3 separate regions of the Homo sapiens genome follow, and all the other regions are linked to region 2. Evidence: promoter capture Hi-C in human tissues and cell types (Jung and others, 2019). All regions are on one chromosome and are shown on one strand. The core of a region is centred on a gene start or on the middle of the fragment in contact, and the rest is flanking DNA. Distances in the headings are between cores, read along the strand shown. Region 1 has its middle 2.7 kb from the start of TLR10. Region 2 holds the start of PDS5A (PDS5 cohesin associated factor A). Region 3 has its middle 2.0 kb from the start of TLR1.

Evidence for each region. The method cuts DNA at HindIII sites, captures the fragments that hold promoters and counts their contacts. A contact is called where the count stands out against the background at its distance.
Region 1: a contact is called between a fragment that was not itself captured here and the fragment with the promoter of PDS5A in region 2, in 1 of the 25 tissues and cell types used here (lymphoblastoid cells).
Region 3: a contact is called between a fragment that was not itself captured here and the fragment with the promoter of PDS5A in region 2, in 1 of the 25 tissues and cell types used here (spleen).

Annotation. Positions count from the first base shown.
Region 1 is chr4:38,784,327-38,787,149 of GRCh38, reverse strand. No RefSeq gene overlaps it. Among named protein-coding and RNA genes, the nearest start is that of TLR10, 2.7 kb to the right of the region's middle. The HindIII fragment of the contact is 4,349 bases long and covers 1-2,823 here.
Region 2 is chr4:39,976,116-39,979,243 of GRCh38, reverse strand. PDS5A (PDS5 cohesin associated factor A) reads left to right here and starts at 1,333. Exons shown (of 33, transcript NM_001100399.2): 1 at 1,333-1,787; 2 at 2,627-2,804. The coding sequence starts at 2,667. RefSeq lists silencers at 1,109-1,748, 1,799-2,548 and an enhancer at 2,086-2,994. The HindIII fragment of the contact is 8,894 bases long and covers 1-3,128 here.
Region 3 is chr4:38,805,341-38,808,286 of GRCh38, reverse strand. It overlaps a transcript of TLR1 not described here. Among named protein-coding and RNA genes, the nearest start is that of TLR1, 2.0 kb to the right of the region's middle. RefSeq lists an enhancer at 2,496-2,665. The HindIII fragment of the contact is 5,621 bases long and covers 1-2,946 here.

The DNA.
Region 1 (2,823 bases), core at 52-2,551, 1.2 Mb after region 2:
ATGTTCTCCTTATACTCAAATGTAGTAAATGAATGACAAATGATTTAAATTTTCTAACCATGTGAGAATTTTATTACTTTTCATTTATTTTTCAGAAATAGGATTCAGAAAAAAAAAAAGTTGTTACTATTTTCACTTACTGATACCAGTAATTAAAGTAAAGGAGCTTTCCCCAGCTAACACGTGCTCCACACTAGACCCTGAACCACCCGCAGTGCTCTTAGGGAGAATGCAAGCCCAGGCCCTTTCTTCTACCCGTGAGCAGCTCTAGGTCATGTAACTTTCCTACCTGCCTGGATCAGGGACCAAGGCCCTCTTAAAGGCAAGAACTATAAAAATAGACTGGGTGCGGTGGCTCATACCTGTAATCCCAGCACTTTGGGAGGCCGAGGTGAGTGGGTCACCTGAGGTCAGGAGTTCAAGACCAGCCTGGCCAAGATGGCAAACCCCATCTCTACTAAAAATACAAAACTTAGTCGAGCATGGTGGCACATGCCTGTGATCCCAGCTATTTGGGAGGCTGAGGCAGGAGAATCACTTGAACCCAGGAGGAGGAGGTTGCAGTGAGCTGAGATCATGCCACTGCACTCCAGCCTGGGCAGCAGAGCAAGACTCTATCTCAAAATAATAATAAAAATAAAATAAGCTAGCCGCCTGTAAGGTGGTCATGAATCCTCTGCCCAATAGAGACGCTCCATCTTGCATAGTGAGGCAAAGATCTGATCAGATTTCCCTTCTTGGGGGAAGTATTCTCAGAGCGGGCCTCAGCCCTTGACTGTAAGCCATGAGCCTGGGAAAAGGCTGTAGGAAGACACATATAGAAGCAAAGGCAGCAATAAAGAGAAGTGGGGAATAGAAAGAGAAGCAGATTGAGGAAGAGTCAAAGAGAAGTCAAGTCATAGCTAAAGTGGAGAGCAGCCCAACCAGACAGCCTGACCACCACGGCTGCTCTGGGAGTCCCCAGAAGCCACTGCTCCAGGTCTCTAGAGGGCCTGGCTGTGCTGCTGTGTTTCCTTACAGCCTCTAGTGTCTTTAAAATAAACCTCCATCCCCTTGTGGTAACCCAAGGTTCTCTGTTCATTGCAACATATATGAAGGCAGAATCACAGCTGGCCCACGTCTGGTATCAGAGGAAGACATAGGAGGGAAATGTGTGTTTGTGTGTTTGTGTGTGTGCGTGCGTGTGTGTGCGCGTGCCTGCGTGCATGCATGTGTGTAGGGGCAGGGGGAAGTTTTTTAAAAAGGAATAAAAATATTACATCTTAAAGTTATCAGCACATATGGTTCTGAGCATACTATTCTTGGTTGCTAGTTGTGAATAAAGATTTAAACGTTTTAGAAATCTCAGGTGAAGGCAGAGAGAGTATTACATAACCTCTTGGGCATCTGGAGTCGTGAAAAAATTGTGGGCTTTGGAACCAGACTTACTTAGTTTTGAATCTTGGCTCCCTCCCCTATTGGATGATGACCTTGTGCAAGTTTTTTGTTCTCTCTCAACCAGTTTTTCCATCTGGCGAATGGGAATAAAGTATATGTTCTATGTAGTTTGTGGTGGTGATTAGCCAATATCTTGTGTGCAATACTATCTGCACTTAGGAAGTAAATGCAAGCTTAATGATGATGATTAGATGACACAAGCAACAACTCTACTTGGCTCAACTTGTTTTTGGTAAACAAATGTAAAAACACTTAAAGAAAACTTCTCCGTTTTCTGACAATAAAGTATTTAAACATGTTGGTCTCTGGGGAAAGGAAGAATATGTCTTTGGACAACAAAAACCCCAAGTGATTATTTTTCCTTGAGAGGGCAATATACAGTGTGAGTGTGCTGATCATAGTAATTTGAGAATTTCTGAAATGAAAAAGATTTTAGAGCTTAGTTCATCCAACAAGCTGGGAATCCCCTCTCCAACGTTCCTGACGGGTGTTCCTGTCTTCCTACGTTTGTGTAATATAGACATGTTTGTATATGTTTAGGTGAGGAGCAGAGCTGGTTTTGTTTTGCTGTTGTTTTTCTTTTTACAGTTATTTATATTTTGTGTGATTTCCCCCTACAATATATGTGGAAATACATGGACTACATTTTAAATTTAAAAACCCCAATATGATAGTTAAAAAATGTATTTTAAGAACCCACCCACTCCCCAATTTTATAAGACATAAATCTATTATAATCATTCATGTTTAAATTGATCATTCCTCCTGTAGACAAATCCATCTGGAAATTTTCTTCTTTACTCGTGATCTCCAGCAGTCACCTAAATCTTAAGTCAAGTATGAAAAAAACCTCAAAAATGTTGCTTTAAAAATTGATCCGTACTTTGCGATCTACATTTTAAAAAATACCATGCTTATTTTACCACTTCACTTCAAGAAAAGGCCTCTAGGTCAGAGGTCTCCAATCTTTTTGGCACCAGGACCAATTTCATGGAAGACAGTTTTTCCACAGACCGGGTTTGGAGATGGAGGAGAGATGGTTTCGGGATGATTCAAGCACATTACATTTATTGTGCACTTTATTTCTATTATTATGACATTGTAATATATAATGAAATAATTATACAACTCACCATAATGTAGAATCAGTGGAAGCCCTGAGCCTGTTTTCCTGCAACTAGATGGTCCCATCTGACATGATGGGAAGCAGTGACAGATCATCAGACATTAGATTCTCATAAGGAGCACGCAACCTAGATCCCTCCCATATGCAGCTCACAGTAGGGTCCAAGCTCCTATGAGAATCTAATGCTGCCACTGATATGACAGGGTGTGGAGCTCAGGTGGTAATGCAAGCGATGGGGAGCGACTGTAAATACAGATGAA
Region 2 (3,128 bases), core at 84-2,583:
TAGTTTGGATGAGGACACTTTTAAATGGATTCTGCCTGGTACTGTAAATGCCCAAGAACAAAGCATTGACTTTTGGGCAGAGTTCTAGCAAATCAGCAACTGTGGAGTGTCAGATTCGCAATGACTGCTCTTGTGTAATACGTCAAAAACAAGTCAGTGAGCTGAAATGCAGTACCTTTACTATTTTTAAGTTGACGTTAAAGGATGTGGGAAAAAAATAGACCAATGGGTACCCATCAAGAATAATTTGAATAAACAATCGAATATCATTTTAAACTATGGTAGTGGTCAGTTTCAAGAGCTGAATGTGATTTCATATTATCGTATCCTTTTTTCAACTTTCTCTTCGGAAATTTTGTGTATGCTCTTGATTTTTTTTAAATAGGTAAGTGTATGTTCTTGCGTTAATTTGTTTCAATTACATACATTAAATTGCTCAAACACTGCTGCGTGCACTGTTTTTACCTGATAGTGGTTTTCCTTTGGATGACAGAAAACGTTAATGCTTGGTAGGTTTAAAACATTTTTAAAAAATGAGCTCTTCCTTATTTACAAGAATCACCCACCCAATTAATAAATGCTTATTTCTGGGTTCCACTCTCAGAGATTTTTATGTTTATGTATATTTTTATATTTTTTAGTGTTTTATTTTATATGTTATATTTTTATATGTTTTATGTTCATATATATTTTTACGTTAAAAAAACATATATTTTTATGTTTTTTAATCTTTGGAGTTGGAAACCTACGTTTTCAGCCAGTACCCAAAGTGATTGTGAGGCCTGGTGGCCCAAAGACCATACCTTGAGAACGACTCGACCCAATGCTATTTTCATGTTTTGCAGCTTTCAAAATATTAACTTCAGAAATCTAAGGAGGGTGGGCAACTCGGGTGGCTGTCAGAAGACCCGAGAGTGAGCCGCTCACGCTGCGCCCCATTGCACAACTTTCCTTGACTTTGCAGATCTCTCCCTGAGGAGGAAATCAGTTCATTTTCACCGAGCAATTAACTACCTCCCAACCAGTTTCGTCTATGTCCCTCAGGATGACCCCCAAAAGTCACCAGCTCATCGCCGCTGCGAAAGATAAAGCACTGTTTGCCCTGCGTGCCCTCGCAAGGCCGCGGGAACCTGGGCTCGCTTCCCGCCACCCGGGCTCCTCCTCCTCTCGCCCTCTCCGGTCGGGTCCTCCGGGAGGCGCCCCGCGCGGCAGGTATTGGCGCCAACCGGGTGGCGGCGCTGTCCGCCCTGCGCGCGGCCGCCTCGGGCCCGAGGGAGGCGGATGCACGGCCGGCGGAGGAAGGGGAGGGAGCGAGGAGCGCGCGCTGCTCTCGCGTGCTCTCGCGCCGCTCGCGTGACCGGCCGGTGTGTGCGCGAGGCCCCGGCTCCCGGGGCACGGACGGCCGGGCGCGCGCCTCTGCGAGGGGCGTCCGGGTCCGAGTCGGCGGTCCGGGCCGGCGCGAGGTGCGTGCGGGCGGGCCGCGGGGGTCCCGGACGGACACAAGCGCACACACTCCCGGAGGAGCCTTCGAGGCTGCTCTTCCTCGGCCAGACGGAGAGCGGCACTGTCTCCCCGCCCAGCGCTCACTCGCCCCGCGTCTCCCCCCGCGGCGGCTGCTCCTCCTCGGCACCGCCAGCCCCAGCGCCGCTCCCGGGCGGGCGGGCGGCGGCGGCGGCGGCGGCGGGACCCGCGGAGCCGCTTTGTGTGCAGCCCGACTAGGGGCGGCGGCGCAACCACCTGACAGAGGCCCGGGCGCTCGATGCACCTTCCGCCCGCATGAGGAGGAGGTAAAGGCGGCGGCGGCTCGGCTCCCGCCCTAGGCTGCTGGAGGGAGGGGACGGAAGGGGAGACTGGAGGGGGGGGCCGCGGGTCCGAGGCCCGGTGGGGCCGCCCGAGGGTGCCGGGAAGGCCTCGGCGGTGCCGGAGGCGCCAAGCGGCCGGGGGCCAGAGAAGCAGCTGGGGTCCCTCAGCCGAAGTTGAAGGAACAAAATGTGAAGTGCGGAGGCGCGTCAGCCGCTTCCTGGCGTGGGGCTGAGGGTGGAGGGCGGCTTGTTTTCCCCTCCCGCGGGGGTGAGGGAGCGGAACAGGGGAGGGGTGGCAGCGCGGCGGGGACTACCCCGGGTCCGAGGCTCGGCTGGGCAAGGGCGTTTTGTTCCCGGCAGCCGCCGCTGCGCGTGGGTCCGCTGGGTCCCTAGTTTTGCGGCCTAAGCCGAGCCCTATAGGCCTCGGGTCTGGTTTCCCGGAGGGGACTGGCCGGGCGGGACTGGGTGCTTCCCCACCGCCGAGCGGGGGCCTTGGGGTCCTTGCCGGCCTCCCGGGGCCGCCAAACTTCGGACCCTGGTGCTCGGGGGTGGATTTCATTGTGAAAGGCGGAATGGGAAACTCCTGGCGCTGTTCGGCGGCCACGGCGGCTGGTGCGGAGGAGCCCCGTGAGCCTGGGGCTGGCAGGGCCGGGTTGGCGGGGCCGGCGGGGTTCGATCCCTGGGAAAGAGCGGGTGGCGAGGCCGCTGCCGGGTCCCCGGCCTCTGGGGAGACAGGGCCTTTTCCAGATTAGAGAGATTTGAAATGAAAAAAGAGGTTACAAAGTCGCCCCTTTCCCGCTGAACTTTGGTTTTCTGACCGATAGAGGCCGGTAGAGGACTGTGAACCAAAAGTTGTCCCCCAGGATGGACTTCACCGCGCAGCCCAAGCCTGCCACTGCCCTCTGTGGCGTCGTGAGTGCCGACGGGAAGATCGCTTACCCTCCGGGGGTAAAAGAGATCACCGACAAGATCACCACGGACGAGATGATCAAACGCCTGAAGGTAAGTGTCTGGACGGATTTTGATGTCTTTGGTAGAAGGCGCTTTCTCCTGTGATACTGCTACCCTGCTCAGTCTGGCCTTTAAAGTTCCAAGTTTTTTAGATCTCTTACCCCCTCTGAAAGGTACTGTTGTATCTCAGATAACATCTTTGAGTGAGTTTTGTAGGGATATAACCATTGTGGGAAATTTAAAAGGAGTGTGATTTTTCAAAAACTTACTGGTTTTCAAGCATAAGAATTTGTGTTTTTAGAGTTTTTTCTGGAGGTATTTAATGAGAATACTGTTCAGAGTGGCTTGCAAACTTAGGTGTAGGCAGTAATTTGC
Region 3 (2,946 bases), core at 125-2,624, 1.2 Mb after region 2:
ACACATGGCAACCATCCGATTTCTCAATCTTTTCCCCACCTTTCCTCCCTTTCTATTCCACAAAACCGCCATTGTCATCATGGCCCGTTCTCAATGAGCTGTTGGGTACACCTCCCAGACGAGGAGGTGGCCAGGCAGAGGGGCTCCTCACTTCCCAGTAGGAGCAGCCGGGCAGAGGCGCCCCTCACCTCCCGGACCGGGCGGCTGGCCGGGTGGGGGGCTGACTCCCCCACCTCCCTCCTGGACGGGGCGGCTGGCCGGGTGGGGGGCTGACCCCCCCATCTCCCTCCCGGACGGGGCGGCTGGCCGGGCAGAGGGGCTCCTCACTTCCCAGTAGGGGCGGCTGGGCAGAGGCGCCCCTCACCTCCCGGACCGGGTGGCTGGCCAGGTCGGGGGCTGACTCCCCCACCTCCCTCCTGGACGGGGCGGCTGGCCGGGCGGGGGACTGACCCCCCCACCTCCCTCCCGGATGGGGTGGCTGGCCTGGCGGGGGCTGTCCCCCACCTCCCTCCCGGACGGGGTGGCTGCCGGGCGGAGACACTCCTCACTTCCCAGACGGGGTGGCTGCCTGGCGGAGGGGCTCCTCACTTCTCAGACAGGGCAGTTGCCAGGCAGAGGGTCTCCTCACTTCTCAGACGGCGCGGCCGGGCAGAGACGCTCCTCACCTCCCAGACGGGGTCGCGGCCGGGTAGAGGCGCTCCTCACATCCCAGATGGGGTGGCAGGGCAGAGGCGCTCCCCACATCTCAGACGATGGGCGGCCGGGCAGAGGCGCTCCTCACATCCCAGACGGGGCGGCGGGGCAGAGGTGCTCCCCACATCTCAGACGATGGGCGGCCGGGCAGAGACGCTCCTCACTTCCTAGATGGGATGGCGGCCGGGAAGAGGCGCTCCTCACTTCCTAGATGGGATGGCGGCCAGGCAGAGATGCTCCTCACTTTCCAGACTGGGCAGCCAGGCAGAGGGGCTCCTCACGTCCCAGACGATGGGCGGCCAGGCAGAGACGCTCCTCACTTCCCAGACGGGGTGGCGGCCGGGCAGAGGCTGCAATCTCGGCACTTTGGGAGGCCAAGGCAGGCAGCTGGGAGGTGGAGGTTGCAGCGAGCCGAGATCACGCCACTGCACTCCAGCCTGGGCAACATTGAGCACTGAGTGAACCAGACTCCGTCTGCAATCCCGGCACCTCAGGAGGCCGAGGCTGGCGGATCACTCGCGGTTAGGAGCTGGAAACCAGCCCAGCCAACACAGCGAAACCCCGTCTCCACCAAAAAAATACAAAAACCAGTCAGGCGTGGCGGCGTGCGCCTGCAATGGCAGGCACTCCGCAGGCTGAGGCAGAGAATCAGGCAGGGAGGTTGCAGTGAGCCGAGATGGCAGCAGTACAGTCCAGCTTCGGCTCGGCATCAGAGGGAGACCGTGGAGGTAGAGGTAGAGGTAGGGGTAGGGGTAGGGGTAGGGGTAGGGGTAGGGGTAGAGGTAGGTAGAGGTAGAGGTGTAGAGGTAGAGGGGAAGTGTGTGTTTGTTGATTGATGGGTGTACATGATTACAAGTGTGTGTTTGTTCTGTGGTGACCCACTGGACAGCAGGGGGAAAAAGAGGCAGGTAGGTGCCTCCGAATTAGACACTTTATTTTATTTATTTATTTATTTATTTATTTATTTATTTATTTATTTATTTTTTGAGATAGAGTCTTGCTCTGTCACCCAGGCTAGAGTGCAGTGGTGTGATCTTGGCTCACTGCAACCTCCGCCTCTTGGGTTCAGGCGATTCTCCTGCCTCAGCCTCCTAAGTAGCTGAGATCACAGGCATGTGCCACCACGTCCGGCTAATTTTTTTTATTTTTAGTAGAGACGGGGTTTCGCCTTCTCTACTAGGCTGGTCTCAAACTCCTGACCTCAGGTGATCTGCCTGCCTCAGCCTCCCAAAGTGTTGGGATTGTAGGCATGAGCTACCATGCCCGGCCTGAATTATACACTTTAAACGGGTGTATTTTTTATCGTTTGTGAAATTTTTTATGGAAGGTGAAATTTTTTATGGTTTGTGAATTATATATCAATAAGGTTTTGTTAAAAAAAAACACAACTAACTACAGATTACATCTAATTGACAGCATATTTTTACTGCCCTGAATCCAAAAAGAAATGCCCAGGTATGGGCTAGGGGTGGGCAGAGACACACACACTTGTAATCATGTACACAACTGGGAGTAGTGGGGATGAGTCTGTGGGGAAAAACAGGAATTCAGAGTGCTGAGAAGCTTCCCTTACTGCCCTGCCCACTTCCCTCCCCTGGGCATTGCTCCCTCAGCCTGGATTCACAAAGTCAATGCCTTTGGGAGCCAGGAACTAAATTCTTAGTCAAAGACACCTCCCTCCTGTCCAGTTATGGGTCTCAGGGAGGAAATGGCAGGTGGGTGGTTTCATTCTTTCAGTTTCAGAAAATATCTGTAGACATAACATATTTCCTCTATTAAACAAATTCTGAGGTAAGGGGAAACAGAGAGAGACAGTCAGAACATTATAAGTCGAAAAGAATCTCAGCATTCTTAGTTTAGGGAAGTTGGCCTTGCTCGCTGTGTGGTAGAAAAGCTGATTACGGGAGAGAACCGTGGAGGGAAGGAAGGGAGGCAGTTTTGTCATCCCCACATCCGGTTTTGACTGGACACCATGCAGGCTGAGATCAACTTCAGAGGCAGTCAGCTGGAATCCCATAGCTTTATTTGCCCATTTATTGTGTTGTTATTTTGTTGTTGTCATTACTGGAAAAGGCAAGAGTAGAGCTATCAGAATGTCTTCCTTGAACATGCTGTCAACAAACCCCAGGATTTTTATAAACCCTATGTGAAAAACACGCTAAGAATCTCTTTTCTTCTTAGCATATTTTTCACTTAGGGTTTACAAAAATATGTTTTGAAGAAAGCTTGAAAAGATCAGTGGAAAAAAATTCA